Regions from separate parts of the Homo sapiens genome. Here all the other regions are linked to region 2. The links are contacts of gene promoters, found by promoter capture Hi-C in human tissues and cell types (Jung and others, 2019). All regions are on one chromosome and are shown on one strand. The core of a region is centred on a gene start or on the middle of the fragment in contact, and the rest is flanking DNA. Distances in the headings are between cores, read along the strand shown.

Evidence for each region. The method cuts DNA at HindIII sites, captures the fragments that hold promoters and counts their contacts. A contact is called where the count stands out against the background at its distance.
Region 1: a fragment that was not itself captured here is called in contact with the fragment with the promoter of DNAH1 in region 2 in 6 of the 25 tissues and cell types used here (dorsolateral prefrontal cortex, heart left ventricle, liver and 3 more).
Region 3: a contact is called between a fragment that was not itself captured here and the fragment with the promoter of DNAH1 in region 2, in 1 of the 25 tissues and cell types used here (IMR-90 fibroblasts).
Region 4: a contact is called between a fragment that was not itself captured here and the fragment with the promoter of DNAH1 in region 2, in 1 of the 25 tissues and cell types used here (spleen).

What each region holds. Positions count from the first base shown.
Region 1 is chr3:52,182,201-52,185,288 of GRCh38, forward strand. No RefSeq gene overlaps it. Among named protein-coding and RNA genes, the nearest start is that of ALAS1, 14 kb to the right of the region's middle. RefSeq lists an enhancer at 2,319-3,088. The HindIII fragment of the contact is 5,026 bases long and covers 1-3,088 here.
Region 2 is chr3:52,314,586-52,317,799 of GRCh38, forward strand. It overlaps DNAH1 (dynein axonemal heavy chain 1), which reads left to right and starts at 1,734. Exons shown (of 78, transcript NM_015512.5): 1 at 1,734-1,960. RefSeq lists an enhancer at 2,248-3,186 and a silencer at 3,125-3,214. The HindIII fragment of the contact is 24,079 bases long and covers 1-3,214 here.
Region 3 is chr3:52,164,323-52,167,503 of GRCh38, forward strand. No RefSeq gene overlaps it. Among named protein-coding and RNA genes, the nearest start is that of POC1A, 11 kb to the left of the region's middle. The HindIII fragment of the contact is 3,344 bases long and covers 1-3,181 here.
Region 4 is chr3:52,146,005-52,148,978 of GRCh38, forward strand. It overlaps POC1A (POC1 centriolar protein A), which reads right to left. Exons shown (of 11, transcript NM_015426.5): 5 at 984-1,091. Among named protein-coding and RNA genes, the nearest start is that of POC1A, 6.9 kb to the right of the region's middle. The HindIII fragment of the contact is 3,176 bases long and covers 1-2,974 here.

The DNA.
Region 1 (3,088 bases), core at 135-2,634, 130 kb before region 2:
TCCTGCCCAACTCAGAACCTTCTGGTTTCTGCCACAGGATGCCTTGCAAGCTTATCGGGGTCACTGTGGGCAGCTGGGTGAGCTAAGTTCATCTGTGCTGCCGTGACCTCTGTGCAGATGCATCAAGAACACAGAGTGCTCCGGGGTTAGGATGAGGGCAGCGCTGATAAGGTTCATGGAACCAGTGACAGAGCACACAGCTGCCCACAGAGTCACTCCCCTGTGCCCCAGCCTGGACACCTCAGCTCCCTCTCAACCCCTTCCCGAGGTGCTAGATGTATATGGGACCAGAAAGCCCCCTCTGTGTCCTCCTGTGTGAGAGCCCAGCTGCTTAGGTGTTTGTGACTCTGGGCACCTGTGGGCCTGAGATTATGTGTATCTGAGAGATATTCAGGGCGTGCATCTATGAATGTGACCAACAGGCTGCCCTGCCAGGGCAGGCAGGGGTACAAGAGTAGGGGTGGAGGAATTGGGGGATGGGAACAGGTTGCCCCACCAACATCTGGGGCAGGACCATTATGGGCAGAAGGGAGCAAAGGCCTGAGGTGCTCTTGAGGATTTGCAGGGTGGGTTTAAGGGACAGAAAAGTGAGTTGTGAGTGAATGTCAAAGAGGTCGGTGGGCCTTGTGGACTCCTGTAAGAACTTGGCTTCTACCTTGAGTGACAGTGAGCCCTGGGGGTGCTTTGAGCAGAGAAGGAACTTCACGCAGCTTAGCTTTTAAAAGATCACTCTGGCTGCTCTGAGATAGATCAGTGGTTTTCCAAGTGTGGTCCAACAGCAGCACCTGAGAACTTGCAGAAATGCAGATTCTCAGGCGCCCTGCTAAATCAGGACACCAGGGGCAGGGCACAGAGATGGCGTCACAGGAGCCCTCCAGGGATGGCTTATACCCCTCCAGCAGCCTTGCTGCAGGGCTCCTGGAGAACTCCAACCCCACCAGACCCCACCAGATAGCTGCTATGAGCAGAATGAGTTCTGTGGTCAGCTGCATGTGGGAAATGAGGCTCCTGCACTCACACCCCCTAAGTTCTCTCAACACACAGCTTTTTTTTTGTTTTTTCTCTCTTTTTTGAGACTGAGTCTTGCTCTGTCACCCAGGCTGGAGTACAGTAGCGCCATCTTGGCTCACTGCAACCTCTGCCTCCCAGGTTCAAGCGATTCTCCTGCCTCAGCCTCCTGAGTAGCTGGGATTACAGGCGCCCGCCATCACATGCTCAGCTAATTTTTGTATTTTTAGTAGAGATGGGTTTCACCATGTTGGCCAGGCTGGTCTTGAACTCCTGACCTTAGGCGATCCACCCACCTCGGCCTCCCAAAGCGCTGGGATTACAGGCTTGAGCCACCAAGCCCAGCCTAAACACACTGCCTTTTAAAGCTTCTCCAAATCCCACGAAAAAGAAACCAGGTCACCTTTGCTCAGGCCAAGTGAATTATATAATACCCTTTCTTAACTTACTTGACTATGGAATATTTTTTCCAGAGACCACTTCATGAACATAGACCACACTGAAAAATGCTACTTCAGGTACATTTTGGTTTATTTCTCCAGGCTCCTACACTGCGCCTAACACAGAGTGACCACCCAACAACTGCCCTTTGAAAAATGCATGAAGCTCCCCCATGGTGACCCTGATGAAATTCAGGTGATTTATAAACCAACTGACCTTCCCCCAAGCTCTGGAAGGACTTGGCTTCAGCACCTCATACACTGACTCCCTGGGCTCCCCTGGGAGTCCAGGGGTCTGGAGGTTCCAAGCACAAGAAGGGGAAGAGGGAGGGGTTGCCGCCTTGGCTTTCACGGAACAATGACCTCTCTGGTGCTCAGGGTCCCCACCCTGCCTGAGCTCAGGGCCAAGTCACAAGGCAGCTTCCGTAGAAGACTTTTTTTTTTTTTTTTGCCCCGAGAACCCCCCACTCAGCCCAGATGATGTGTTGTTTGTAGAAAGCTTAAGTGGGTCCCAGGAGGTCAGTCCAGCCAGCACCTGCCTCCAGGCTGGGCAGCCACTCCTCTGGTCCTTGCACACAGCCGGGCATCAGGCCTGCCTCAGGGGCCCCTTTGAGGCCTCAAGAACAACTGAGCTCTCCTTTGTTCCCAAGGAAATCTCAGTGGAGGCCCTTTCATTAGTGAGAGGCACCTGGCCATGAAGTTCAAATAGACTCAGAAGCCCGAAGGTCCAGGAAATGCCAGAGGGGCCACAGAATCACAGCTTTCCTCATCACGGGTGCCAGAAGAGCCTTGAAACCACCAGGTCTATGCCTGTATTAACAGATGGAGAATATGTACAACTATTATACATCAATAACATTTTTTTTAAAAACAGGTGGAGAATCTGAGGTCCAGAAACAAGACATGACTGTTATGGTCACACAGCTTGGCTCTCATGCCCTTGGGATCTCCCTGGTCCACGCTCTGGTCAGTTTAATAGTTCTCAGGGGTGTACAGAGCCATCGGGACAGACCTGAGCAGGATGGCCACAGAGGAGGCAGGCAGAGGGAGGGCCAGTCAGGGGCTCTTGATAGTCCTGACTTCATCAGGAATGAGCGCAGGGGAAGGGATCACGATCCCAGGGAGCCAGGCTGCACTTGCGGTAGGGAGGTGGAGGTGAGGGGTGAAGCAGAGCAACCCTGCGGCCCTGCACAGCTCAGCCCGTGTGTGTGACCCTATGTATGATGACGTCCCAATCATGGCACACCATGGCTGCACATGTGTGCCTCTGTGACAAGGTCACAGCCCCCGAGGCACGCTGTGACTACACCATGTATCTAACTGTCACAAGGTGCTGCTATCCCTATGACCAGAGTGGTTGGCCATGTGGCCATGTGTGAAAGGGTGTTTGTGACCCTGGGCAGCTGTGGGCCTGGGATTCTGCATGTATTTGAGAGACCTTCAGGGTGTGCACGTAGGAATGTGACCAGCAGACCACGCTGCCAGACACTAGGCCCTAAGAACTTCCAAACTTGAAATGTCACTTCAGAGTGGCCAGCAGTCTTCTGTCTGCTAAGACACAGGCAGGCTGTGGAAAACTATTTTCTAGATGTTGTTACACAAATATAGAGTGAGAGCCCTTCTGCTGCACAGCTATGGTC
Region 2 (3,214 bases), core at 484-2,983:
AAGCTGTGCCTCTGCCCCAGCACCCCCTGACCCCATCCATCAAGTCCACCCTCCAGTTGGGAGAAACAGCAGTGACCATCACATGGTAGGGAGTGAGTCATCTACCAAGTGGTACTGACCATGGTCCTCTGGGGCCCTGAGGAGAGTGTGTGTTCTGTTGGCCAAGGCACTCAGGGAGTGTGTCCTGAGAAGTAGCCCAAGATGGCATGGAAGATCATAGAAAAACAAAGAGGGAAGAGGCTCCGGCAGGGAGGCTGCACAGGAGTAAAGGTGGGCAGGGGATTAGGTGGGGGCTGTGATGGATGAAGATTGTCTGTTCATGGGCCAGTGGTCTTCAGTCCACCAGCCCCGGAGAAACTCTGTTCTACTCCTTGCTTGAGCTCTGGGCTTTCAAGGTCTTGTCTGTCAAGGTGATCATGTGGATCAAAGGAGAATTAAATTTTCTCCATTTTTATTCATCAAAGAAATGATTATGCTGGTCAGAACTGCTGAGGGCAGCTGAGCAATGGCAGGGAGGCTTATGTCGGGGAGGCCTGGGGAGGCAGTGAATCGTAGACCTCACCCATTCCCTTCTCTGACACCCCCCGCCCCCGATGCCTGCAACTCACTTTCTTGTGGCATAGCTCAGAGCTCCAGGCCTAGAAAATCAGAGGAAGATCCTGGGGGCCCAAGAGGGAGGCTGGGGACAGGTGGGGAGCGGGTAGCTCAGCCACTCAGTCTGGATGCCTGTCACCTTCCGTTCTGGCTGGCCAGCCACATGAAGGGCCCATTCTGCTGCCCATTCACAAGGGGCTTTCATCTCTGCAGCCAGTGAAGCATTGCTCCCATCTCAGCCAGCAAGGAGACACAGGGGAGGGGGTGTGCAGACTTGCCATGACCTCAGACTCCATGCTGGAAAGGCATGGCCCTGGGCCAGGGCATCCTAAGCAGCCCATCTGCCCCAATCCCCCAGCTTCCAGGCCACCAGAGTCCTCAGCAAGGGGGATCTGAGTAAGAGATGGGCAGTGACTCCCCAACTCTTGTAGAAACCTAGTCCTCCCATTTCAACAAGGGTAAGGCTGACCTCTCTTCCAGCTTATTCAGGGCAAAAGATGGCCCTCCCATCACAAGAGGGGCAGGAGTCCAGTGGGTCATGGCTCAGCCCCCTGCTCCTTTCCCAGGGAGCAAGGTAAGTATGGTGGCCTTCAGGACAGGGCAGGAAGACCAAAGCCTGAACCCTTGCGCAGCCATGGGAGAAGACAGCACATTAGAGGGTAGCCCCTGAGACCCAGGAGAACAGGGACTGACTCACGGTGTCCTTCCAGGGAGGAGGGAGGCAGTCATATCCACAGCCCGCCCTTGAAGAGGGGCGAAGTGGAGCTGGCAGGGCTGCTGGTAAAAGCAGCACCCCCGACCCCCACCCCTCAAGTCCATTCTCCAGTTGGGAGAAACAGCAGTGACCATCACATGGTAAGCAGTGAGTGGTTCTGTGAGCTGGGCCTCCTGAGAGTGGACCCTTTCAGCTGTGGCCTGTCCATCTGTCCAGCAGCCACAGCCCCTGTGATGTCACCAGCCCACTGTGTTGCTTGGCAACTTTCCAGGATTAGCATTCTGCCCCTCTCATCCCTGACATCCCACCATAGGCTGATGTTGCCATGGCAACCCGGATAGATGCTGCAGCTTTTTGGACAGCTGTACCTAGTGTGGGAAGTGCCAGGCAAAAGCAGGGAAGCAGGTGCCTCTCTACAGGCCAAGGGGGGTACCCAACCTATACGCAGACCCATTGAGCAGCCAGACTGCCCTAAACAGGGCTATGGAGTCCTTGTCCCTTCTAAGAGCTGTGGACACCTTGCCTCCAGTTCCCCTCACAGTCCTTTCTTCCTTCTGCAGTGATCACTGAGTACCTGTGTGAATGCCAACAAGAAAAATAAAACCACAGTTTGGATTCAGGAAAGGTTGCACCACCATCAGGTCTTGAAGGGTGAGTAGGAGTCCGCCAGATGCAGGAGTGGATGGAGACAGGTTCTAGACAGAGGAAGCAGAAGCCTGTGCAAGGGCTGAACCACTGTCTCCAGGCATAGATTACACCCTGCCTCTAGGTTCCTCATGGCCTGGCCTCTCCATCTTTCCCACTCAATACACTTTATGGTGGGGATAGGGTCCAGTTCAGTTCCAGACACTTAGTGCCCAGCAACAGGCCTGGCACCAAGCCAGCACGACTAAAATGCCAAGTAAAATTCAACATCAGGGCCTATGACCTCCCCTAGTACTAACCGTCTCAGCAAGTCTGTTTCCCCATCTGTGAAATGGGGCCAGTTTTGAGAAGGCTGTGGGCAGGGGTTCTCAGGTACAGATGGGGTGATGTTTTTCTTTTGGTTCTTTTGGTTTGTAAACCACTTCTTTCCCTTACAGAAAAAATTGGAAGACTAGTACATGGACATCTGTGACCTTCAGATTCCCTAATTGTTATATTGCAGCACTTTTGCTTTATCTCCTCTTTGTCTTTTTATCTAGCTATGCTTACCTATATGTATAATTTTTGCTGAACCATTTGAAAGGAAATTGTAGCGGACATTCTGACGTGTTTCTTCAAACACTTCAGGCCACGTCAACTAAGGACAGTCTGATACAACCACAGTAGCATTATCACATCTAAGAAAATTAACAATAATTCAATATTCAGAATAGGGCAGGAAGATCAAAACCTGAACCCATGCCAGGTGCTGAGAGCAGATGAGGGGCATCAGAGGGTGGGCGCCCGAGCCGAGGGGTGTCGGGCGCATCCGCTGCCCAGCGGAAGCGGCGGCCTGAGTGGAGTCACCGTGCAATGGGTGGGTGTGGCTTTGTGAGCCAAGCCCCAGGAGAACCAGAACCCACCTTTTCCTCAGTGCCCTGACCAGCTGTCCCGCAGCTGTGGCTTAAATGCCAACTTCCAGTTCGTAAATTTCTTCAATTATTCCTCCCCAAATTATTTACATATGTATATGTATTTAAATCAGGATTTAATCAAAGTTCTCACGCTGCATTTAGCTGTTTCGCTGCTTACTCTAAAAGGGCACAGGAGGGAAGATGGGTGGGTAATGGAGCCTAGAAGAGTGACGCTCCCTGGTCGGCCCTAATCCTGCCGATCGGGGCATATGCTGGAACATCCCAGTCCCACTGTCCTGGGCGGAAGTAACCGAGACCTGGAGTTGGTGGGTAGGTAAGGGTTCAGGCTGGGGAGGTTCGCGGACGG
Region 3 (3,181 bases), core at 383-2,882, 150 kb before region 2:
GGTGAGCCGAGATTGCGCCATTGCACTCCAGCCTGGGCAACAAGAGTGAAACTTCGTCTCAAAAAAAAAAAAAATTGCTTATCTTTTGTTTTTTGGAGCCAAGAAAACTTTCTTTTTCTCTTTTTTTTTTTTTTTTTTTTTTTTTTGAGACACTCTTCCTCTGTCACCCAAGCTGGAGTGCAGTGGTGCGATCTCGGCTCACTGCAACCTCCGCCTAGCAGGTTCAAGCGACTCTCATGCCTCAGCCTCCCAAGTAGCTGGGAGTACGGGTGCACCACCTCACCCAGCTAATTTTTGTTTTTTTGTTTTTTTCGTTTTTTGTTTTGAGACGGAGTCTTGCTATGTCGCCCAGGCTGGAGTGCAGTGGCGCGATCTCGGCTCACTGCAAGCTCCGCCTCCCAGGTTCATGCCATTCTCTCGCCTCAGCCTCCCCAGTAGCTGGGACTACAGGCACACACCACCATGCCTGGCTAATTTTGTTTTTGTATTTTTAGTAGAGATGGGGTTTCACTGTGTTAGCCAGAATGGTCTCAATCTCCTGACCTCGTGAGCCGCCCGCCTCTGCCTCCCAAAGTGCTGGGATTACAGGCGTAAGCCACAATGCCGGCCAATTTTTGTATTTTTATTAGAGCTGGGGTTTTGCCATGTTGCCCAGGCTGGTCTCGAACTCCTAGCTTCAAGTGATCCGCCTGCCTCAGCCTCCCAAAGTTCTGGGATTACAGGCATGAGCCACCCCACCTGGCCCTGTTTTGAGCTATTTGCAGCTTTTAACAATTGAGTAAAGTGTACTGCTATAAACAAAATTTGGAACATATTTCTCTCTACCTGATTTTTTCCAAATTTGGAAACTATTTGTGAGTATTCTTAACTTACGCTATATATTTATTTGCGTAAGTGCAATAAGAATCTGTTTTCTTTTGTAACAGGACACAGTTGGAGACACTGGTTACTTTATCAAGGCTTTGACTGGAATGGCATGCTTTCAGACAGAAACACACTCCTTTAAGGAATCAAAGTTGACTTATACAGCCAATAAAGCCCCTAAGGAAAACTGGCACCTTGTCTATACAGTACCTGTACAGGGTTCCTGACCTGTGGTAAGTAAAGAATGCCATTTTCTGACAGGCTTAGGAGCCCCAAGTTATCTTGGGACCTCAAGAGTAGACAAATTTACCCAAACTCACATAGGTATTAATATTTGACTGCACAAACTCAGGGCTGGGCTCGAGGCTTTAAAAAAGTCTTATCTGAGATTCCTTATAAAACAAAATTCCATAAAAGCCAATTACAAAAAGATCCTATGTGGTAAATAGTTATTCTTGCTGCACTTTATACAAATAATCAGGCCAAGCATAAGACTAAAGCTTATTTTTGCAGACAAATCAATCCTACCATGATTTGTCTTTTGTGAAAATGGGGACTAGAGAGACAGAAATTATGTTTCAAGATAAACTATAGTACACTTGTTATTAGATTCTAGTCTTGCCTAATGTTTTTCAATTTTTATTATTTTCTACAGTTTGGACTGAATTCTAAATTTGTCCTGGCTACAAGTCTCCAAAATGCTTTCCTTTTTTTTTTTCCTTCTTTCTTTTCCTTTTTTCCCCTATTTTCTCTGATTTGAAATCACTGAAAATTAAGCTGTGCTTTCTTAAAGCCCTGTGAACTGAAGCTAGACAACTTAAACTTCAGAACAAAATAGCAGCAACCTATTTACATACATAAGCCACTTTCATACCTGCCTACCAATGTATGGACTTCAGGGTAATATGGCCTATATCAGTTTTCCAGGATTGTTCTTTTTGTTGTTGTTGTTCGGTTGTTGTTGTTTTTCTCCCTTCCTCCCCCTATTTTCTCTTCGTAGGACATGAGCCTTCACAGCCTGCTAAAAATGATCTTTCTTAATAACGTGGGACCTACCCCTCTAGGAATAAACCATCCTACCAATGAGAGATCAGATGAAACCTGAGACCAGAGCCTTATTTTCTTTTTCTTCTTTTTTCTTTTCTTTTTCTTTTCTTTTTTTTTTTAAGACAGAGTCTGGCTCTTGTCACCCAGGCTGGAGTGCAGTGGCACGATCTCGGCTCATTGCAGCCTCTGCCTCCTGGGTTCCAGCAATTCTTCTGCCTCAGCCTCCCAGGTAACTGGGATTACAGGTGTGTGCCACATATACAGGCTAATTTTTGTATTTTTAGTAGAGACAGAGTTTCACCATGTTGGCCAGGCTAGTCTCAAATTCTTGACCTCAGGTGATCCGCCCCCTTAGCCTCCCAAAGTCCTGGGATTACAGGCAGGAGCCACCGCGCCCGGCCCAGAGTCTCATTTTCTTCTAAAATGCTTTCTCCGAAAGATTTTAAAAAGAAAAGGAGGCCGGGCGCAGTGGCCAGGTGCACTAAGGCATAAGTGACTATTTCCTCTACCCTTCTTTCATATATATTAATGAATTGTGTATTTAGTGAAAAGCTAATCAGAAACTCAAAGGAATGCAATCGTTCGTCTCTGATCTACCTAGGACCTGGAAGCCCCCTCCCTGCTTCGAGTTGTCCCACCTTTCTGGACCAAATCAATGTATATCTTACAAGTACTGATCGATGTCTCATGTCTCCCTAAAACGTATAAAACCAAGCTGTGCCCCAACCACCTTTGGCACATGTCATCAGGACCTCCTGAGGCTGTGTCACAGGCATGTCCTTAACCTTGGCAAAATAAACTTTCTTTTTTTTTTTTGAGCGGAGTTTTGCTCTTGTTGCCCAAGCTGGAGTGCAATGGTGCAATCTCGGCCCACTGCAACCTCTGCCTCACGGATTCAAGCGATTTTCCTGCCTCAGCCTCCCAAGTAGCTGGGATTAACAGGCGTGCACCACTACACCCGGCTAATTTTTTGTATCTTTAGTAGAAACGGAGTTTCACCATGTTGGCCAAGCTGATCTTGAACTCCTAACCTCAGGTGATCCACCCACCTCAGCAGGTGTCATGGCGCTGGCCAGGTAAAGGCCCATTTGCATAATAAAAGATTAAGGTGGGATGGCCAGTCTCTTCTCAGGCTATGCAAATAGAACACCTGGTCAAACCAATTCCCGGGGTCCTATGTAAATCAAACACTGCCTTGTCAAGCCTGTCTGTAAAATCAACCGCGTCTTGCCCCAAGCCCGGAAGCCCACTTGGGCACCCCCTTACTCTG
Region 4 (2,974 bases), core at 217-2,716, 170 kb before region 2:
GGTTCAGGACGGACCCAGAAACATTTGGTGCTTTCCCCATCCCTGTGTCCTGCCCACGCTGTTCCCTTGACCCAGACACCTCCTTTCTGTCACACTTGTTTACCAGGTGGCCAAGGGAGAGCAAGAAGAAGTAAAAGGTGAGAACAGTGGCCAGCAACAAACTAAGGTGGACTGACCAGGGAGCACATCCCACCGCCAATTTTCAATACAAGTTGAGAGAGCTATCTTCAAACCCAAAAGTTAGCCAGGCTCCCCTGGGATTTTCAAAGTTGGAGCTGGTACCCTTCCCAGGGGTGGCTGCAGGGCAGATCCTGCCAGCTGAGGCACAGGTGGGAAGGTCCAGCAGGACTACAGGGCCATTGGCCCACCCCTTTCTAGGAGACAGGCCAAGGACCCTCACCACACCCATATGTGATACCCAGGCTGGTACCATGTCCACCTCTCAAGGAGAAGCCCTTGTGGCTCCCAGCCCAACAAAGAAGGGCAGAAGCTGGGGTCTCTACTCAAATGTAGGCACCTCTCTCTCCTGATGATGTGGCACAATATGAACAGCCACCATCTGCTACAAGAACCCAACAAGAATTTTGTAAAGCCATCATCATGGATAACATACCAAGAGGCTTTAAAATGTAGTTTGGGCGACTGAGTGTCAACTGCTGCCAGACAGACATGTTGTAATCCTGACAACCAGAAAGTGAAGGAGAAAAAGAGGAGCACAAATAATTACACAGCTCCAAAGAATTGCATGGCTTGAGGTTAAGCACTCCTGCTATTTGTGGGATGGGGCCAAAGCTTCCATCCACACAGCAAAAGATACAATGCTAGGTTGCCAGACCTCGCAAAAAGCACCAGACAAGGGGCAGCAGTGATAAGGCTGCTGGTCCCACGGCTCCAGCCACTGAAGGCCACTGGGCCTCCTCATGCCCAGGTCTGTGCTCTGTGCTTGAGCGCCTACAGGTGGAGGACAGCATCTGGGGACTCACCCGCCATGCTCACAATACGAGTGGACACATTCCCGGCTGCTCTTGTCCCACAGCTTAACAGTCTTGTCATCACTGGCAGACACGATGAGCCGCCCGTCGGGGGAGAACCTGAACCGGGTGGGGCACAAGTCACATCACAGACTAACAGACGACATGGGCACCACACACCTTCTTCCACAGCCACTCTTCCCCGAGTGCCTACTATCTGCCTGCAGGAACCACCCGGGGTCACATGCCCTGCTGTGATTTTTTTTTTTTTAATTTGAATACCCTAATTTGTCTTTTCAGGAACAAATGCATTGCATCCTAGGAGGCAATGTTACTTCTGTTTATTTGGTCATATCTTAAATTATACTTTGTTTCTGAAAATAGTTAACTTTTAGCACATCATTTTTCTTTTTTCCTTCTGAAGAGTTTTTCAGGAAACTGTGACTAAATTTTGTTTTTGTTTTTGTTTTGTTTTTTAGACAGGGTATTGCTCTGTCACCCAGGCTGGAGTGCAGTGGTGTGATCTCAGCTCACTGCAGCCTCTACCTCCTGGGCTCAAGAGATCCTCCCACCTAAGCCTCCTGAGCAGCTGGGACTACAGGCGTGCACCACCACACCCAGCTAATTTTATTTTATTTTATTTTATTGTAGAGATGGGAGTCTCACTATGTTGCCCAGGCTGGTCCTCTAACTCCTGGAGTCAAAGGATCCTCCCACCTCATCCACCCAAAGTGCTAGGATTACAGACATGCACCTTCAAGCTCGGCCTATGACTTAATTTTAAATGTTATAAAAATGTTTCCTTTATTTTTTTCTTCCTGAATCTGTGAAACTTATTGATCTTTCCTGTTGCTCTTGTTTTCGTTTTCTTACGTAGCTTCATGAGCAAATAGCCCCTCTCCCATCCCAACAGCAAACTCTGACCAAAAGGGAAAAAGAGAAATTCTTCCTGACTTAGAGGAAAACCAAACATAAATAAACAAAAAGAAAAGAAAAAAAAAAAGGTGCCTGCCTCACGAGTGAGCACAGAGCAGCCTCATGCACATAAAGCCCCAGCACTGCCCCTGACGCACAGCACATGGCAACATGCAGCCGACTGCCTGCCGGCAACATTTGCATAAAGGTGGCCAAAAGCTCACCATCAGTGTCATTACTCTGGGACCAGGTCCTCCGAGTCTACATTTGACTCAAGTGCGGGTCAGCAAGACACAATCTGCCAACAAAAGGCATGAGGTCCTGGGGACTGCCACCAAAGGCCCAGTATGGACTTGACACCCCAGTTTGCTGGCCTGGCCCCTCCTGATCTCAGGACCCTAGTCATAAAGCCTCTAAGAGCCATCAGGGGTCTCCCAGGACAAAGGAATGGGGGTGCCCTGGAGAACAGTAACTTGTATGGGGTCCCCAGAAGAACACAGCTCAATAGTCCCCAACTTCTGACTCATGTGGTTTCCTAATGTCACCTGGCACCCCAACCCCTTCCTCTGAAGCAAAGATATTTGACCCATGGGGAAGCTCTGTTGAAAGGAATGAAATAAGCTAGAAGTAGGACTATCTGTCTGCAATTCTTGGACCTTGAAAGGTCCTTTGGGTTACCTGGCCCGCTGTCTGCACAGCACTGGCTCCCTGGCCAGCAGGAAGGCTAGCCTCCAGGCTAAGCCCCCCATCTCCGAAGCCTGCGCCCCCATCTGGGAGCTCTGGAGCAAAATCATCCCCTGAGAACATCCCAGAGGAAAGTAGGCAAGCCTTACTGTCAGAGAGAGTTGGGTTCAAACTCCAGCTCTGCCACAGACCCACCGTGTGCTCTGGGACAAGATACTACTGTTCTGAGCCCCCATTTCCTCATCTGCAAAATGGAAATGCACCTAGCTTGCAGAACTGTCTTAAGGAACAAAAAGAAAATGTGTAATGGTAGTACTGAAAGTACCTAATTGTTTTTGATAATAAATGGCCCCTGTTGACCCAGTTTGTGCTTTGCCAACACAGATGTCAGAGGGTCATCATGG